7 separate regions of the Homo sapiens genome follow, and regions 1, 3, 4, 5, 6 and 7 are each linked to region 2. The links are contacts of gene promoters, found by promoter capture Hi-C in blood cells and fetal thymus (Javierre and others, 2016). All regions are on one chromosome and are shown on one strand. Each heading gives the region's core, a stretch centred on a gene start or on the middle of the fragment in contact. The rest is flanking DNA. Distances are from core to core; before and after follow the strand shown. Region 1 has its middle 42 kb from the start of LINC02551. Region 2 holds the start of ADAMTS8 (ADAM metallopeptidase with thrombospondin type 1 motif 8). Region 3 has its middle 19 kb from the start of SNX19. Region 4 has its middle 21 kb from the start of LINC02551. Region 5 overlaps SNX19 (sorting nexin 19). Region 6 overlaps LINC02873 (long intergenic non-protein coding RNA 2873). Region 7 has its middle 70 kb from the start of LINC02551.

The links. The method cuts DNA at HindIII sites, captures the fragments that hold promoters and counts their contacts. A CHiCAGO score of 5 or more calls a contact.
Region 1: a fragment that was not itself captured here is called in contact with the fragment with the promoter of ADAMTS8 in region 2 in 5 of 17 cell types (M1 macrophages, M0 macrophages, endothelial precursors and 2 more); the score reaches 14.3 in M1 macrophages.
Region 3: a fragment that was not itself captured here is called in contact with the fragment with the promoter of ADAMTS8 in region 2 in 2 of 17 cell types (naive CD8 T cells and naive B cells); the score reaches 5.6 in naive CD8 T cells.
Region 4: a fragment that was not itself captured here is called in contact with the fragment with the promoter of ADAMTS8 in region 2 in 16 of 17 cell types (M2 macrophages, endothelial precursors, M1 macrophages and 13 more); the score reaches 36.4 in M2 macrophages.
Region 5: a fragment that was not itself captured here is called in contact with the fragment with the promoter of ADAMTS8 in region 2 in 16 of 17 cell types (naive CD8 T cells, naive B cells, fetal thymus and 13 more); the score reaches 22.8 in naive CD8 T cells.
Region 6: a contact is called between a fragment that was not itself captured here and the fragment with the promoter of ADAMTS8 in region 2, in 3 of 17 cell types (M2 macrophages, endothelial precursors and M1 macrophages). The highest score is 5.3, in M2 macrophages.
Region 7: a fragment that was not itself captured here is called in contact with the fragment with the promoter of ADAMTS8 in region 2 in 3 of 17 cell types (M2 macrophages, M1 macrophages and endothelial precursors); the score reaches 7.4 in M2 macrophages.

The regions. Positions count from the first base shown.
Region 1 is chr11:130,818,926-130,821,625 of GRCh38, forward strand. No RefSeq gene overlaps it. Among named protein-coding and RNA genes, the nearest start is that of LINC02551, 42 kb to the right of the region's middle. The HindIII fragment of the contact is 2,213 bases long and covers 293-2,505 here.
Region 2 is chr11:130,427,321-130,430,020 of GRCh38, forward strand. It overlaps ADAMTS8 (ADAM metallopeptidase with thrombospondin type 1 motif 8), which reads right to left and starts at 1,289. Exons shown (of 9, transcript NM_007037.6): 1 at 247-1,289. The coding sequence starts at 966. The HindIII fragment of the contact is 10,262 bases long and covers 1-2,700 here.
Region 3 is chr11:130,933,844-130,936,543 of GRCh38, forward strand. No RefSeq gene overlaps it. Among named protein-coding and RNA genes, the nearest start is that of SNX19, 19 kb to the left of the region's middle. The HindIII fragment of the contact is 3,143 bases long and covers 1-2,700 here.
Region 4 is chr11:130,839,416-130,842,115 of GRCh38, forward strand. No RefSeq gene overlaps it. Among named protein-coding and RNA genes, the nearest start is that of LINC02551, 21 kb to the right of the region's middle. The HindIII fragment of the contact is 800 bases long and covers 1,007-1,806 here.
Region 5 is chr11:130,881,226-130,883,925 of GRCh38, forward strand. All of the region lies in intron 8 of SNX19 (sorting nexin 19), which reads right to left. Among named protein-coding and RNA genes, the nearest start is that of LINC02551, 20 kb to the left of the region's middle. The HindIII fragment of the contact is 3,697 bases long and covers 1-2,700 here.
Region 6 is chr11:130,688,637-130,691,336 of GRCh38, forward strand. The region is part of intron 1 of LINC02873 (long intergenic non-protein coding RNA 2873); the gene reads left to right. Among named protein-coding and RNA genes, the nearest start is that of LINC02873, 17 kb to the left of the region's middle. The HindIII fragment of the contact is 1,138 bases long and covers 832-1,969 here.
Region 7 is chr11:130,790,423-130,793,122 of GRCh38, forward strand. It overlaps the pseudogene PPP1R10P1. Among named protein-coding and RNA genes, the nearest start is that of LINC02551, 70 kb to the right of the region's middle. The HindIII fragment of the contact is 5,949 bases long and covers 1-2,700 here.

The sequences.
Region 1 (2,700 bases), core at 149-2,648, 390 kb after region 2:
GGCATATCTAAGAATCCATTGCCAAATCCAAGGTTATTAAAATTTACCCCTATGTTTTTTTTTAAGGGTTCATGGTTTTTACTCTTTTAAAAAAATTCAACTTTTATTTTAGATACAGGGGGTGCATGTGCAGGTTTGTTACATGGGTATATTGTACCCAGGTAGTGAGCATAGTAGTAATAGGTAGCATTACCCCTCGGCTATCTTGCCTCTGCGGGTTTTCTCTCCATGTATGGGAAATCTGCCACATGTCCCAGCCCTAGCCATCTTTCAAGCCCCTTCCTTTCTGTAAAGCTTTCTCTGATCCTGACATATTGAAAAAAAAAAAAAAAAAAAAAAAAAAAAAAAAAAAAAAAAAGAAGGCTATACCTATACATCTTTCTCATTCCTCTGAGGTCTCTTTGCATGTGACATTGCATCTCTCCCCACCAAAACATAGACTCTATTTCTCTATGCTTTGAATCTCGGGCTTGACCATGTGGCTTGTTTTGGCCAATGGCCGATATTGTTACATGGGTATATTGTACCCAGGTAGTGAGCAATAGGTAGCTTTAGAAAATACTGTTGAGGGTAAGACTCGACTGCATTCATGGGGCCTGAATTCTGCTGAAGTATATTTCATAAGAAATCAGGCTGTGGTGCCTAACTCATACATATGCAAGTGGTGATAGGACGCTGCTGCGTGGGTGTTTCTCACAAGGAGCAATGTCGAGGGGATCCAAGACAGGCGCATGAACGTTTCTAGATGAAACTCAGGACACTGCCAGTCCCAGTGGCTTTCTCTCTAAGGATGAACTCATACCCAGGGAAGACTGGAATCAGCCTTCAACAAGTGGTGCCTTGTGGTTGATGTGTCTGCTTCCAATAAGGCAAGTTTTACAGTCTGTCAGTGGGCTGACTGCAGAGTTATAAATGTTGATCTCATAAAAAAGAAACATGAGTGGTTGACACATCACATTGTATCTGTGTCGTTCTGTGCTCTGGCAGCTAGACCAGCTCTCACTTACAGCAACGGAGGCGACATAAAAGCAGAATAATCAGATTTTAATTATAATGGGGATTTCTCCATCCCATGGGGCTCTGGAGGGCAGGACTATTGTGTGACTTCTGGTTTCCAGGGAAATATATTTTCCTGTGCCACTGCTGAGATGCACTTTGTAAATGCTCCCCAAAGAAATACTGCAGAATGGGATGGCTTCTGGCTTTTAATAACCAGAGTGAGAACTGATAAAATATTTGAAAGAAATGATAACTGAAGAAATACATAGACTTCAAAATAACACTTTTAAGCTCTCAAGACTTTACCAAATCAAAGCATTTGTCTGCAAATATGATGGCTTCAGTCTCCACTTTATGGTATGTCTAATTGCTAGAAGAGGTAGAGAAAGAACAGCTCATCTTAAGAACAACTCCTCCCCTGAATGCCCACTACATTTGAGGCTCTGCCTCACTTTGCTTCCTGGCAAGATATACTTCCATCCATGGTCTCCCTGTCCTTTTCAAGACTTTATTCCAGCCATTGTTCTACCCAGGGATGCAAGGGAGAGAATCTCCCATCTCTGATGCGGGGAACTCTACATAACCTGATGAAGGGGACAGAACCATTCATCACCTGGTGCAGGAGACAGGACTGTCCATCATCTGAAACAGGGACAGAATCACCCTTCACATGAAATGCAACACAATCATCCACCACTAGATGCAGAGGACAGAACCACCTATCAATCACCTGATGCAGGGGGCAGAATCACCAATCATCTGATGCAGGGGGCAGACCCATCTATCACCTGATGCAGGGACAAGGCCATTCAAAACCTGAGGAGAAAGAGAATTACCCTTAAATCTCAGCCTGGATGGGGAAATCCTTAGGATCTGAGGCTGCTCCAGGGACCTATCTTCTCTCTGTGTCTGCTTCTCTCTTTTCATCTGCTCCTTCTCTGCTCTCTGCCAGCTGACCTCCTCACCCTCAGCTCCCACATGTCCAGTTTGAACAGGGTTTTGGATGCCCTGTTTGTCACTGAACCTCAATGTGCCCTTCACCTTCACCTCTGCTGTTCATGCCTCCATCTCCCAGATTCCTCTTCCCAGCTTATCTCTCTCAGCTCAGCTTTTCAGGACAGGCCATAGTAGGTCTTTGGAAGCCTGTAGACTGGCTACCGTAGGTCCTTTGACTGTTGAGTCAGTGGTGGTGGCACTGCAGAAACAGGAGGAAACAGGCACAGCTGCAGGTGGAGCATGTTCTCTTGGGAGGGCTGTGCCCCTAAAGTGGAGGTCAACCTCTTAGAAGGCCATTGGAGACCATCCAAGTTCTTAAAGACAACACTCCATCTCCTCCATGATTGTGTTCCAACTTACTTTCCCAACCTTCCACTAGCCCAGAGGAAGCATTTGCTGGGCCTTGCAAACCCCTCAGCTATCTTGCCTCTGCGGGCTTTCTCTCCATGTATGGGAAATCTGTCACATGTCCCAGCTCTAGCCATCTTTCAAGCCCCTTCCTTTCTGTAAAGCTTTCTCTGATCATGACTTACTGAAAAAAAAAAAGAAAGAAAAAAAAAGAAGGCTATACCTATACATTTTTCTCATTCCTCTGAGGTCTCTTTGCATGTGATATGGCATCTCTCCCCACCAAAAGGTAGACTCTATTTTTCTATGTTTTGAATCTTGGGCTTGACCATGTGGCTTGTTTTGGCCAATGGACAT
Region 2 (2,700 bases), core at 39-2,538:
AACTGGAAGGGACCTGGGGGTGGGGGCGCAGGGATCCAGGGTGGCAGAAGTTCAGAAAAGAGTTACTGCTCTTTCTCAGACAGGAGAGAATCTCGTTTGGGGTAAGGCTGGAGAAGATGAGTGGGGAGGGCTTTTTTTTTTTTTTTTTTTTTTTCTCAGAGGGATTGGAAGGGGAGATTTTAGAGACGCTGGGAGGCGTCTGGGGGGCCTCCGGGCACGGCGGCTGGAGGAGGCTCTCAGTCCTACCTGCAGGTCGGCCCCGTAGAAGGCAGCCATGGACGCATCGGCCACCAGCAGCGTCTCCACGAAGCGCGCCTCAGACACAAACCGCTTGGTCCTACTCGTGGCCCCCAGGGGCGGTGGCGGCTCGCTAGCGCCTTCTGCCTCCTCTTCTTGGCTCTCCTCCTCGCTGTCCTCCTGGTGGTCTCCTCTCTCCTGCCTCTGACCCTCTCCCGTCTCCACCTCCCACTCGGGTCCTCGCGGGAGGGGGCGGGCTCCGGCGGGACCCCAGCGCTGCAGGCGGTGCGGCTGAGCCAGGGAGCCCCCCGCGCCCTGCGGCTGGATGGTGAACTCCTCGCCGTCCAGCAGGAAGGAGCCGCTCAGCCCGCGGCACAGGCTGACCGCCGCCAGCGACTCGGGCTCCCCATTCACGGTGCCGGAGAAGAAGCAGCCGCGCAGCCCCCGCTCGCCCCCGGTCGCCCGGCCGGAGCCCCCGAGGCGCTCGATCTTGAACTCGGGCGCTAGGAAGCTGTCGTCGGGCGCCAGGCGCAGCACGAAGCCCTTGCCGAAGGCGGACAGGTGGAGCGCGAGCTCGCCCGCGCTGCCGGGCAACCGCGTGGGCACCACCAGCTCCGAGGCCTGCCCCCCGGCTGCGGGCCGGGCCGGGGCGCCGCGGGCCAGCGGCAGCAGCAGCAGCAGCAGCAGCAGGAGCGGAGGCCACCGGGGGGCGGCGGGGGCGGGGAGCATGGGGGCTGCGGCGGTGGCTGCGCGCAGGAGAGGGAAGAAGCCCGCCAGGCGCGGGCAGGTGCTGGCGGCCCGAGCGCGGCCCGGCCGCTCTCTCCAGGAAAAGCGGAATCAATCGGGTGCAAGGCCGACTCGGCCCGCGGGGCCCGGCGGCGGGAGCGCTCCCCCGGCGGCCCCTCTGGCTGGCGCAGCCCGCTCCTCCCGCGCCGCCGCCCCCGAGCCGAGCGCGAGCAGCTGGCCCCGGCCCGCGTGCGCCCGTCCTCCGCCCCTGCCCGCGCCAGCCCCGCGCAGCCGCCTCCTGCCTCCTCCCCACCCCGGGAAGCACCGAGTGGGCTGCCGAGCCCTTCTTATTTATACTTCCTTCCCGGCTTGACATAAGAGGTTTATTTTTGATCTCTCACTATTCCCGTTTCCCCTCCCCTGGGATCAGAGAGAGAAACTGAAAAGAGGGAGAGAGAGTGGAGAAAAAAAAATTGGGATGAAATGCAAAACCAATCAGGCAGCGAGACCCGTCCGCCACCCGCCCCCCTGAAGTGTCAACTACAACTTCTTTCCTTTCCCTCTACGCGTGGACCCACGTTAACCCCTACCATGCTGGACTGACCCTTTAGAAAGAGTCCCTGGGAGACCCCAACCGCTTTCTCCTCTGCGGCCAAGAGTCCAGGATGCATCTTCCGAAGAGGCTCGTGCACTGGTCTCAGCGACCCTGTTCGGATCCCTGCAGAGTCCGACTGCAGAGCCCGACACTGTTGGGATCCCTGCAGATGCCTCCGGAGATCCGACTGTGTGGGGAGAAGGTTCCTGAGCTTTTCATTGTAAAGCATAAAGGGAGAGGAGGAAAAGGTCATGCTAAAATCATGCCCTCCTCTCATCACTACTGCACAGCCTTCCTAACTTTCACTCCAAACTGAAGATGGGGAAAACAAAAACAAAACAAAAAACAACCCACCTGGTTAACCCTAAGAGGGACTCTCACTGTCCTGTTAGAGGGCAGGTGGGGCAGAGGCCAGCACAGTGGTAAGTTACCAGCACTGAGGTTGGAAGTTAGCATTTCCCCAAGAGGGAAACAGACCTCCAGTCCCTGAAAAAGGTCTTCTCTTCTGGATACTGCTAGTTGCCCGGGACTTCAAGTAAGGTGGCAGGCCCTTTCACTGCGTTGCCACAGCCCCAGGAACAAATGTGTATGAGGTGAATTTATTCTGTCCCATGTCACCACTGCCCCCTAGGGAAGGGGGTAGTATTCAGGAAGAGAGGGATGACATGGTCTCAAGACCACAAAACTGCATCCCATCCCAGTCTCAATGACACAGGTCTGGATTGGGTGGAGGGCCCTGTTCTCTACCTACAAACTCTAGACTCATCCACCAACTGTGCCTTTCTCTGAGTTGTCAATGTGGGTGATGCATTAGGAACCGCTGGGATCAGGGCCTTTAAATCCTTTGCCAATTCACCTGCCCCCAGGTACCCAGCTCTGTGCTTATGCTGGGGATGTTGACAGTCGAGGTCATCGCTGATTCTTTTCAGCCCATCTGACCCCTTCCTGCAGTGTGGTGGTTCAGCATGCATCTGAGACTCTCAGGGCTTGTTACCTCCAAAGAGGAGGCTCTTGCCCAGGGGAAAGTGCTGCCAAATTCCCTCTAAGTATCCCCCCTCTCTTTGCTTTCTCAGAAACACAGAGGGACAGCTGTGAATTAGATGAAAGGATGAACTTCCCAACCTAGCATGGTGCAGAACCTC
Region 3 (2,700 bases), core at 100-2,599, 510 kb after region 2:
AACAGCCCAGGCTGTTCTGGCAAATTCTTTTTTAGCTCATGTTCTTGCATTCTCAACACACTTGAAAGTCATTTTTGATAACTACAAGCAAAAAAGGGGAAGAGAACTGGGTAGGTCAAAGGCCTCCAGGAGATGGAGGATGTAAGTATGTATGTACATACATACATAATATTATATATATAATATTACTGTCCTGTTTTATATATGTATATATATTACTATCCTGTTTATATATATAAAATATTACTGTCCTGTCATATATATAACATATATAAACATGTTTTTATATATACACATATATAAACATATATGTTTTATTATATATATGAAACAGGACAGTAATATTATATATAAAATATTACTTTTATAAAAACAAATATATAAAATACCTATAAATATATAAAATTGATGTGTGTGTGTGTGTGTATATGTATCTGAGACAGAATCTCACTCTGTCATCCGGGATGGAGTGCAGTGGTGGTATCACAGCTCACTGCAACCTCCACCTGCTGGCCTCAAGTGATCCTCCCTCCCATCTCAGCCTCTTGAGTAGTTGAGACTAAAGAAGTCGATAAATATTTTTACATATAAATTATCTGTCTACCTGTCTAGAGATTTATTGAAGGAAATATGTCACAGAGTTTTGGGGCTGGCAAGTTTGAAATCTGTAGGGCAGGCCTTAGGTAGGAGTTGATGCTGCAGTCTTGAGGCAGAATTTCTTCTTCTCCAGAAAACCTTTCAAAGTTCTTAAGGTCTTTCAAGACTGTGGATGAGATGCAACTGCATTTTCAAGGGTAGTCTCCTTTATCTAAAGTCAGTTGATTGTAGATGCTAACTGCATCTACAAAATACCTTCACAGCGACACCTAGATTAGTGTTTGATTAAATAACTGAGTGCTATAACCTAGCCAAATTGATGCATAAAACTAACCATAGCATCATTAAATACTTTTTCTACATCTATTGAGATAATCATATGGTCTGTTGATATGGTGAATTACATTGATTAATGTTGCAGTGCAAGCCCCACCTTGGATTCTTGGGATAAGGCTCCTTCAGTCACAATGTATTATCCTTTTTTAATATATTACTAGATTTAATTGGCCACAATTTAAATAATTTTCTTTCATTTGTGTTTATGAGGGATGGCTATAACCTCATTATGTGTGTGTGTGTATATACCTCATCTTGTGTATACACACACAGACACACACACACACACACACACACGTTCCTTGACTTAAGATACGGGGTTATGTTCCAATAAAACCATAATAAATTGAAAATATGAAGTCAAAAGTGTATTTTTTTTTTGAGACAGAATCTCGCTCTGTCACCCAGGCTGGAGTGCAGTGGCGTGATCTCGGCTCACTGCAAGCGCTGCCTCCCAGGTTCACACTATTCTCCTGCCTCAGCCTCCCCAGTAGCTGGGACTACAGGGGCCCACCACCACATCTGGCTAATTTTTTGTATTTTTAGTAGAGACGGGGTTTCACTGTGTTAGCCAGGATGGTCTCGATCTCCTGACCTTGTGATCCACCCACCTCGGCCTCCCAAAGTGCTGGGATTACAGGCGTGAGCCACTGCACCCGGCCTCAAAAGTATATTTTCAATGTGATGTTTTCAGGTTATGGTTGGTTTATCTGGACATAACCCCATCATAAATTGGCACCATTTTAAAGTAAAAAAATGGTAAGTTGAATCATTGTAAGTTGAAGACCAATTGTATATATGTGTGTGTGTGTGTGTGTGTGTGTGTGTGTGTTTTATTTTTTTTTCTTGTAATGTCTTTTGTTTGGAAATCAGAGTAATGCTATCCTTATAGAATGAGTTGAGAAGAAGTCCCTCATTTTCAATTTTGTGCCATTATTCTCTTGGGTGCCCTGCTCCAAAATTGCCTAATGGTGCTCCTTTCAAATTGTGTTCCAGCTTTTTTTCTTGATTAGTGTTAGAATGTTATGCAGTGTTCCATGTATTTACTCTTAACACATTTGTGTTAATATATCTAAAGTGGGTTTTCATAGGTAGTTTATAGTTAGTTCTTGCTTTTTTAAATCAAATATGTCAACCTCTGCCTTTTAATTAGGATGTTTAAACCACTAACATTTATTATAATCATATATGATGATTTTAAATCTGCCATCTTGCTATTTATTTTTCATTTTTTCCATCTATGCTTTGTTTTCTGTTTCATTTTCTTGGATTGTGAGCATTTTAACTATACCAGATTGTCTCCTGTGTTGCTTCATTTGCTATAATTTATTAGTGTAGTTTTAGAGTTTATAGTATATATATTTAACTAAATAACATCTCCTATCATGTAATGTCATACCACTTTACATAGAGTTTAAGAGAATTATAACAGTATCTATGGATTTCTCTATTTTTGGCTGTTGTTATATTGTCGTTCTACATTTAATGTCAGCATATCTTCTGAGCCCTAGAATATATTTATTATTATTTTCTGCTTTAAAGAGATTCAAATAATAAAAATAGATTTTATATTTATCCATGTGGTTGCCATGTCTAGAGGCTCTTAATTTCTTTGTGTGGATCCACATTTCTTTCTGATATAATTTTCTTTCTGCCTAAAGGACTTCCTGAATGTTTTTTATAGCTCAGCTCTGTTGGAAATAAAAACTTTTACCTTTTGTATGCCTGAAAAAGTCTTTACCTGTGAAATATATATTTTCTGTCTGT
Region 4 (2,700 bases), core at 157-2,656, 410 kb after region 2:
TTTCCCTTGGGGAAATTAACTCCTTCTCTGATTTTCCTCTGAGCTGCACATGTACCTGGACCTGTCTCTGAGGTATTACACTGCAGGTGGGGCAGTAGTGGAGTCTGCCACTGGTCAAGGGTGTGTGGGAGCTGGCTAAAGTGATACTCCGTGGCAACTGGGGATGCTGATGTGTGTTGGGAAGAGTCAAGATGTCCATAGAATGGCAGTCAGGTGACAGCCTCATAAGTATAGATGAGGTGCTCTACCAAACAGAACTCAACAGTGTAAATGTAGAATCTCATCTTTTCTTTTTCTCCTATTTCCCTTCTCTACTTTTTCCTTGTCAAATTTCATCTATTTATAAAGAATAGTCACGCCATAATAATATAGAACTGAATTCCATGCTTTTCCAAGCCACTGCAGTTACACAAGTTGGCCCCCCACCACCTTGTTTTCTTAGCTTCCCAGTGGTTATTAACCAGAGATATATATTTCAATCCCACAGAGCAGTCCTTAGTATATTCTTGGGCTTTTCAGGGTAACCTTCTATATGTTGAGGAAGCAAGAACTCAAGGTTTTCCAAAAAGCTGTGGGTCCAAGTGGTTAATCTGCACTGGTTTGCATTAGTTTACGTGTGGGAAATGCAACACAAAGGAAGTGCCCAGCAACCCTGCACATAACGTGCAACCATTCATTCTGACTCTTTTCCCTGAGGATTTCTCTTGGCTGAACAGCAAGCTCTCTGGGCTCTGCAACTAGAGAACATCTCTAACATAACATAAACGTTGGGCAGCTGCTGGGAGCTGGAGAGGGCTCAGTCTGAACAGCTGTGTGAGGTTTGACCTTGGGGAAAACAACACCAAATCCCACCACCATAGGCTGGTTTCCATTTGGACTTAGTGCAAATGAGGCATAATAACAATTAAGCAGATATACTTGGAAGGGAAGGAAATTAAAAAGGCATTTTATGTGGGGTAAGAAGAGTGGGTAAAGAGAAGAAATTTCATGGATGATAGCTGAGGGAAGCTTTTCTGGAACTGATAGAGGTAAAAACTATTATGGGTTGTTAGCTGTATGAGAGTAGGAACTTTCACTTTTCCTTTATGTGATTCTGTACTGTTTAAGTACACTTGCTTATTACAAACATGCCCAATTTTCTAACCCATCCCCCTAGAACACAGAGAGACCCTGCAATTGTAGAAGTGTAGACATGTGAAAGGAGAGGGGTTGAGGGGTGAAGCTGTGTTTTAAGACAGCCACAGGCACTGATTAGACAGACTGGGATGCTTCTTTGAGTGGGATACTCACTGGTAAACATCTTGGCTAAAAGATGTCCTGGGAAAGATTATATGAGGACTTGGGGCTTTAAATCTTGGGAGAAGACTTTTGTAAGATCACTTGAAATTCCCTAGGAATTGCTTACAGCGCTATCATAAAAGGAACAAAAAAATCCATGTGAAAATATTAATCATAGGAGGCTGGAAAGGCAAAGACATTTGTGGCTGTGGACAATTTCAAATAAATTTTGTTGCCTTCCTTAAACAATGCCAGCTGTGTGCCTGCTTTCTCAAACCAAGATGAACTGTAAGAGAAGAAAGGGGAGGAAAAGTCCCTCCCGCATACAGACTTCAAGTGTGTCTGAATTAAGGCGGCTAAATTCTATTATTTTCATGTTCCTCAAATCACTATTGCAGGGTGGAGCTCATAAAGGCATAATAAATGTTTGTTCAACTAAATATTTCAATGACCCAAACTCTATGTGGATTAAGAAAATTAAAATTATGTTCAATTTTCCTATTGAATTTGAAGGCTGAGACTTTACTAAGCTTTCCCATTGTGTTTTTAAGTGGTTTCTTAAACAAGTTGACCCAAAGGCTTGGGTCATTCAACGAATGTGTTTGCTTCATGGCATAGCTTAGCGTGAGCTTTGCTGTCAGATGTGAGTTCTGGCTCCACCATTTACTAGTTATTCGACTGGGAAAATGGTTTAGCCTATGTAAAAGCTAAGTTTCTTCAGTTATAAAGTGGGTTTAATAACTGTACCTAATCTATGGAAGTTTGGTGATTAAGTGAGATAATACTTATAGAATACCTACCTCAGTATTTTTCACAGAGAAAGCAATGAACGTGAGTTGTAGTTGGTCATCAATATCCTCCTCCTCTTCTCCTTCATTATCTAGAAGAGGGGTGGGTAAACTAGGGCCCACTGCTAGTTTTTGTAAATAAGTTTTATTGGAACACAGCCATGTCCATTTGTTTATGTATTTTCTACAGTGGCTTTCATTCTACAGGGCAGAGTTGAGTAGTTGTGATAGAGACCATATGACCCGCAAAGCCTAAAATATTTACTATCTGGTCCTTTACAGAAAAAGTCTGCTGATCCTTATTCTAGAAGGAAGAAAATCTAGGGATGTGTTTGTGCGTTTCCTGAGCTTAAATTACCAGGAACTCATAGCTTTGATTAGAAGAAACTAGATGAAGGGTTTGAATAAACCCTTAAAGCATGAAACATTATGTTTTCTTCATAGATTTAAAAAATATGCCTAGAGGCAGAGATGCTCACATGCTAAGACAGACATGGGGAATCTTTAAACCTAAACATTTTACCTGAAGAGAAAGAACAGTTAGAATCTTTCGGCTTAATAGAAAAGTCACAGAAGCAAGCAGAGAAATCCTAATGAGTTAGAGGACAATCATTTCCAAGGATTTTGAGTGTGT
Region 5 (2,700 bases), core at 201-2,700, 450 kb after region 2:
TACATGAGCAATCAGAACAGGACAAAGTCAGCACTGACTCTTGCAAAGGAAACCAAGACAATTCAACAGCCTGGGATAACAGAATTTGAAGATGAGTAACAATAAGAATCGTGTTATTTATGGAGCGTTCACTATGTGCCATCTACCGTACAAGAAGTTTTACAGAACAGAACACTAAAAGGGCCTCCGTCTCTGGGTGAGCCTGCACCTATACCTTCCCAACTCTCCTCTGGCAAGGCTGCACCTATTATCTTTCTAGCTCTCCTCTGATGGGAAGCATTATAACCTTCTTGGTAACATGTACACACAGACTTCACAGCTACGGACTTAGCGATCTTTAAACAAATTCCTCTCTCTACCTCCCCAGCCATATCTTCTGGTCCTCATGACTGTCTTAGGGATTTCCTACATCTGCCCTTTGTTCATAATAGTTCTCTCACTAACAAGGGCCTCTTCTCGCCTTGCCTGAAGAGCAAGTCTCAAGTCTGCCCTTCTGGCAAGACCTGTTTCAACCCTACTTCCTCCATGAAATCCTTGACCATCACAGCTGGAAGTGCTCTCCTTCTCCATAGACCTCCTTTGGCAGGTAGCTCTGGAACAATTACTTTGGAATATGCATCTTTTTAAAGGTGTTTATAGCTTTACTTCTTCAACTAAATTATAAGCTGTAAGAGTTCTGTGTCTTGTACTTTAAAAAAACTCCCCGCCGTGCTTGGTGCTCAAGAAATGGTTGACTGACTGATAACTGTTCTTATTTCAATGAAAAATTTTCCCTTTGTCTTACTTTCGAAAATGAGTCAAAATTTTCCCTTTATCTTACTTTCAAAAATGAGTCAAAAATGAGGGGGAAGATATACCAAATCTGGAGTTCAGCTGGAAACCTAGAAAGTGGTTCAACGTTATTCTTGATCTGTTCCTGAATTTTTTTCAAAGTGATATGGTCAGAAGTGAGGTTCAAGGCTGTTGAGGCCTCCCCTTCACCCACCTCATTTAAGACTGACATAGCTGTGTGGGTCATGGATGGACAATCAACCACTTCTATTCATGCACGGAAGACTCGTTTGATCCTGCACCACATGGCAGCTCATGCCATCACTCCTCGCTCCTATACTCGAGTCACTTGTCACTCATCCAAGAGCAGAGGGGGCTGCCAAGGCAAACTTTATTTAACCTCCACTCTGCCAGACAGTCTGCATTCCACTCAAGCTGGGCATTCCAGCCATGAGGGCTGCAATCCCCCAAGCCCAAGGCTCACAACTGATTCTAAGAATAGGAAGTGTGTAAGGTAATAGCAGGGCAAGAATGGCAGCCATCGATGGAGATCAAGAGTGGCACAAAGCTGTTCTTGTCCAAAATAGCCAACACGATCGTATTTGTTATTATTAGGGCCGCATCTCCTTTTTATAGGGCTTTTCATTCAGTGAGCCTAAGATGCCTGATGAAAGGAATCCAGTAGCAAGAATTCCTGTTCCTGTTTATGTAAGAGGGTCACTAGAGGGAGGTGGCTGCAATGACCTGATCGGCTTCTCTGCAGGGGATTAAGTGACCCAAGGTCTCCTTTCTTCACCTCAAGCCATGTATACTTCTGCAATTTTTGCTGAGGAGAATGATGTGTCTTAGGGTCTCATCTAACTGTCTTGAGGGAGAGGGGCAAAGTCTTGCAAACTAAAATCTTTAGCCACATGATCCTTCCTAGACTGAACATGTTGTAACATGCCAGCAAGCCTAGGTACCTCAGCCATCTTCTGGCATGTCTTACAAAGCAAGAGTTACATTCTTTTGAATGAACATTAATTTATCTGATGGGGACAGGACCTCACATGGCATTAGGACAAGGATATCCTCCTTGTTCTCTTGCATGGTGATTAAGTGTCTCATGTACATGTGTGGGATGCAAAATGAATTTTATCATGTGGCAAAATATAAATTTATAAACTTATACAAATCTATAAGACAGCTTTTCAGACTCTAAATGGAAATGTTGGGGAGAGACATAAAAGTAGGAAAAGTAAAAATAAGCACCTGATGATGAAGATGAGTCTATGAGTCAAATAAATTTGTGGAAGCTAATAAGCACAACTCACCGAAGAAAAGGAGTGCCATCTCTGAGTAAGTATCAGCTGCTGATGAGACAAAGACACTGTCAAGCACTGTACATACAAGGCACAGAACTGGCCAACAGGAGGCCCTGGAAAAAGTCAGGCCCAGGAATATAAGAAACAGGACTTTCACAAACTGGCAGAAATAAACTCCCTCCAGGCCTACAAAGAGGGACAGAGTTTGGAAAGTGACTTCTAGTCCCTGGGAGCTGCAGAGTGCCAGCTTTCCTTATTCTTCTCCACACTCTGAAGATAAAAGACACAAACCACACACTTGCACCACGCATGGTTTAAACATTTGCTCTCTTTCCTGGATTCTCCTCTTGCCTACGTTCTGCCCACCCTTCCCCCTGTCAGCAAACAGAGGCTTTATCCTAGGCCTTTGGGCTCAGCATGGTCTTATTTCCTAGTCCCAGGCAGCCTGTGTAGAAGACCAAGTGCAACAAATCTTTCTTGTTCACAGAACTTCTGAGCGATGGTGTCTCGTTAAAAATGATGAGCACGCCAATCTGGAAGGAAAACATGATAAAGAGCAAACCAAAAAAATCACCACCACAACTGCCACTGCCCTCACACAATACAATCTCTAAATTTTTTAAGC
Region 6 (2,700 bases), core at 151-2,650, 260 kb after region 2:
ACTGGATGCTTAAAACTACCAGCAAATTATCATTGAAATTATGTACAAGACACTGACTATTCATTGACCAAGTCCAACACATTGGCTTCAAAGACACTACTGCTTGGGGATATTGAGACAAGTGAATACTAATATAGGAAGTCAGTGTCAATCTGGGAATGCATTAGAGGTGTTACATGTAGAATTTAGCAAGGAGTTAGTCTGAGTATGCCTTATTGTATCTTTGGCAATAAGATGAAAAGTTTAGAGTGTAGTTAATGAATTTATAATGGTCAAACACCACAGCCAAGAAGAATAAAAATTCCTATTACCATGAGTAGGCTAATTCTTATGGGTATATTTTGATCAATGAACAGTGGAAGCACTGTTGGACTTCAGGCCAGTAGTAAGTGAAGGTGCCTCCCTGTGTGTATGTGTGGCGGATCTCTCCAGATGGAATGAATCTCAGTGTGTTTTGGGTGTGGGGATATGAGAACGTCTTGGATATGCAGGAGTTATTATGTAGTCATAGGTGAATTATTAGGTGCTTACTTTCATGATTTTCACTTTCAAATAAGAAAATTGAGGCTTAGAAAAATGAAGTAACTCTCCCGCAACTGCCACCCCAGTACAGGTCTGTCTGACTTGACCCCAGTGCTCTGAACTGAAGTTAAGGCAGTCTGAGTGCTTAGCCAGACATATTTCTGGAGCTTTTCTCCAAAAAGCTTGGCAAGTTTTGTGTTGTGCTTTAGTAAGGGAGGTATTCTCTTGTTCTTTTATGTGCTGATTAATGCTTTAGAGTCATTCCAAAGGGAGGCCTCCAGGGATATAGGACTTCCTGTGTTACCCACAAGCTTGATACGTATATCTTATATGTCTTCATATAATTAGCTGATAAAAATGTTGAATAAGAGATGGCCAGAACTGAGTAGTATTTCAAAATAACCTCAAAAGACTGGAATTAAGGGCCAAAATCAATAAGATGAAATTCAACTGGTAAAATGTCAAGTCCCGACTTGGTTTAAAGAAAAAATCAGTTTACATAAGTATCATGTGGTAAAGACCTGGTTTGAAATTTGGTTGACTGCACACTTAAGATAAACCCACATTGTGAAATAATGAAGAAAATAGAGCTTGAATTCTTAGGTTGCATTACAAGCAGTAGTGACAAGAGCAGGTGAAATGGCAGACCCATTGTACATGGGGCTAGTACCCCATCTAAAAATTATATTCGAGTCTATATAGAGAGAGGCATTGCCAGCCAGATTCTGGTCAAAGGGAGAGGGATGGTGACTGTTGAAAAAATCATGAAAAATAAGGAATAATTCGGGAAACTTGAGGTAGTTATAGAAGGGTCTGAATAAGAGAAGCCTTGAGGGTAGATAAATCACATATTTTCTCTTGGAGCTCACCAGAAATTCTGAATATCTCCCTAGCCAGCAGGCATAGGTGTGGAGAATCATGAGGAAAAGAGAAAGGAAATGGTAGAGGAAAAGGAAAGGGGGCTATCTCAGTCCATCTGTCCCTTTCTAAACCCACACATCATGCTGCCATTTAACTATGTATGTCTTGGGGCAGTGAGGCCTTCACATCCTGGAGTCCCAGTTGGAAATGGGGCTCAAGCTCCTTTTGCTTTCAGCTTCCCACTCGGTCCATCCACCGCCAGTATTCTTTTGCCTGCCCCACCCTGAGGCCAAGACTTGGGTAGGCATTGGTCTCCTGACAGAAAGAACCCATGGAGCAAACTGTCCAGATGCCTGTGTGGTCTGCGCATTAAGGTATTTTGTAATTCTCTATGATCCAAGCTGACCACATATGGTTTCTGATACTTACAGGGAGTGTTCAGAATTTAGAGAGTATCTTTCTTCTTTCAACAAAGTCTGTTGTCCAGCTGAGAACCCAAGAAAGTTATCTTTGATGCTCATTGCATCTTTGTTCTAGTAGATAGATACTTGCCTCTCTTCAAAAGCAATTGGTTCTATAGGTGGGAAGCTTAAGAGAACAATCATTTAAGGAAAATAAAAAATGCATTGGTTTAAATATTATTCCTAAATAATAAAGGTGGTAGGTAATGTAAGGTGGGGAAAGAGAGTGGTCTTGGAACTGAGGAACACTAGACCAAAGTGAAGTGTTGCAACTGAGCTCACATCTTAGAATTTTTAATAAAGAGTTGATAAATTAATGAATAAGGGACAAGATTTTTCTAGAATCAATACATTTGTTCCAAAGATCAGAAATTTTTTATGTGGGCCCCCAGTTAAAGTCAAATGCTGGAAAACAGGAAGTACTTGATAAATGTCTGTTGCAGACAGAATATATTTAAGAACAGAACTATTTAAAATAATTTCAACTTTTGTTTTAGATTCAGAGGGTACATGTGCAGGTTTGTTGCAAGGGGATATTGCGTGGCACTGAGGTCTGGGGTACAAATGATCCCATCACCCAGGTAGTGAGCACAGTAACCAAAAGTCACTTTCTTTTTCTTTTTTTTTTTTTTGTGACGGAGTCTTGCCCAGGCTGGAGTGCAGTGGCGCAATCTTGGCTCACTGCAAACTCCGCCTCCCGGGTTCACGCCATTCTCCTGTCTCAGCCTCCTCAGTAGCTGGGATTACAGGTGCCCGCCAACACACCTGGCTAATTTTTTTGTATTTTTTAGTAGAGACGGGGTTTCACCGTGTTAGCCAGGATGGTCTCGATCTCCCGACTTCATGATCCGCCCGC
Region 7 (2,700 bases), core at 9-2,508, 360 kb after region 2:
GGGCACCTTTACCTTTATGTTGTCATGACTCAGACACTGGCCCATTTCAAATGCAGGTTGGTCTGACAGTGTCTCTCAGACCCCTAGCCAAACTCCTTGATCTTATTCACATTTCTTTGTTTGGATCCATCTACTTCAAAATATAAATATTCTCTCAGTTTGTTCCTGCCATGTCACAATTGCCTTCTTCCAGTTTTTATTAATCCGTTGGCTAGGATCTTCAGGATTCTCTACTGGCTTAGCATCCAGAGCCCCTGACACCAAAGAAGCTACACCCATGAGCTCTGAGACTTCAACAGGGAGTAATGGGGTCCCTTGACAGTCTTTGTCTGCAGCCTCAGAAGGAGGTGCTGATCCTGGGAAAGAAATTTTGGCTGTGCTTGGTTCTATGCATGCTTTTCCTTCGACGGGGCTTGACTTGGCAACTGGGAGTGACAGCACCTTCTTAATTTTGAGTTTGCAGATTAGTTCTTCTGCTTAAGTCTGCTGTTGAGGCTCTCTATCACATTTTTCATTTCATTCATTGTATTGCTGAGCTCCAGAATTTCTGTTTAGTTCTTTTCTATTATTTCTCTTTGGTGAAGTTTTCATTTTGTTCATGCATTTTTTTTTTCTGATTTTGTTGAGTTGTCTATCTGTGTTCTCTTTTAGCTTGCTGAATTTCTTTGAAAACATTTATCTTAAATCCTTTGTCAGGCAATTTGTAGATTTCTATTTCTTTGGAATTTGTAACTGAAAATTATTGTATTCCTTTCATGGTATTATGTTTTCTTGATTTTTGTGTTCCTTGTAGTCTTGCATCTGTCTGTGCATTTGAAGGAGCAGTCACCTGTCCTAGACTTTATAGACTGGCTTTGGTGGGAAAAGACATTCTTCTGTGGATGGGTGTGAAGGCACGAGCTGCGTGAAGCATGGCAGCTCTGGTTCAGGGGGTGGTTGTAGGGTCACCTCCTGCTTTGAGGGGTGTGATAGCATAGACTCTGGTCAACTTCATCAGCTAAGATTGGTGTCAGTGAGGCCAAGGCTGTAGGTATTTTAGTGGTGGTGAGGGCTGCTTGAGTACTCAATCATGAAGGGTGCTGTGGTCCTCCTATTCTCTTTCCCCCTCTAGGGGGAAGTCATGGCTGAGGGGATATCTCTTGGTTCCAAGGTCAGGGCATGTGTGCGGTGGTGCTGGGGTTAGGGGGTGGATTCAGCCCTGGGAACATGGGGTAGGGGGCAGTGGCACCTCATTCCCTGGAGGGGGAGTAGTGGTATGGACTCTGGGCAAATCCATCAGCTGGTTTCACTGTCAGCAAAGAATGCAGAGATCCTTGGTGGCAAAAACTGTGGGTGTGGGCTGGGCACGGTGGCTCACGCCTGTAATCCCAGCACTTTGGGAGGCTGAGGTGGGCAGATCATGGGGTCAGGAGTTTGAGACCAGCCTGGCCAACATAGTGAAACTCTGTCTCTACTAAAAAAACTACAAAAATTAGCCAGGCATGGTGGCACGAGCCTGTAGTCCCAGCTACTCGGGAGGCTGAGGCAGGAGAATCACTTGAACCTGGGAGGCAGAGGTTGCAGTGACCCGAGATTGCTTCACTGCACTCCAGCCTGGCAGCAGAGCGAGACTCCGTCTCAAAAAAAAAAAAAAAAGCTGTGGGTGTCCACAGTGGTGGTGAGGGCTTCTGGGGTCCTTGTTGGGGAAGGCTGCTGGGCTCCTCTTGCTCTTCTTTTCCCTCATGGGGAAGGTCATGACTGAAGGAATCTCTTTTGGTGCTGAGCTGTGTTGAACTGGGGGATGAGATGATATAAGTAAAATGTTTTCTATGCTTTTTGATGTGGCCACGCTCAGTTTTATTTTTTTTTATTTGATTTGATTTTATTTTTTTTTGATGGGGTCTTGCACTATCACCCGGGCTGCCATGATCTCAGCTCACTGCAACCTCCACCTCCCAGGTTGAAGCGATTCTCCTGCCTCAGCCTCCCGAGTAGCTGGGACTACAGGCACCAGCCACCACGCCCAGCTAATTTTTGTATATTTAGTAGAGACGGGGTTTCACCATGTTGGCCAGGATGGTCTCAAACTCCTGACCTCGTGATTTGCCTGCCTTGGCCTCCCAAAGTGGTGGGATTACAGGCGTGAGCCACCACACCCGGCCCACGCTCAGTTTTTGTACTCCAGTGGTTTGCTGTGGCTTTTTTGTTGTTATATTCCAGAGCTCTCTTAGAGATATTTTAGTGAGTAGGTAGTTGTTTAATCATCATTTTTATGGGGGCAATAGAATTGGGACCTTCTACTCTGCCATGTTTCTGACATCATTTTTAGATGTCCTCTTTTGACCCATGAATTACTTGGAAGTCATTTTTACATTTCCAAGTATTTGGAGGTTTTTCCTGTTGCCTTGTATTGTTGGTTTCTAGTTAGTTCCATTATGATCTGAGAACATTCTTTGTATGATTTCAGTTCTTTCCAATTTGTTATTTTAAATTTATAATCCAGAATAGTGCCTGTCCTGGTGAGTGTTTTATGGCACTTGAAAATCAATATTCTGCTGTTGCTGGGTGAGTATTCTATAAATATCAATTAGATTCAGTAGGTTGGCTGTGTTATTCTGTTCTTATCTGCTCAATTTACATATCACTGAGAAAGCAGTGCTTCTTTTCCTTAACAAGGAACTTAATTCTGCTTCTGCCACCTGCCTGGGATCATTAGCAGTA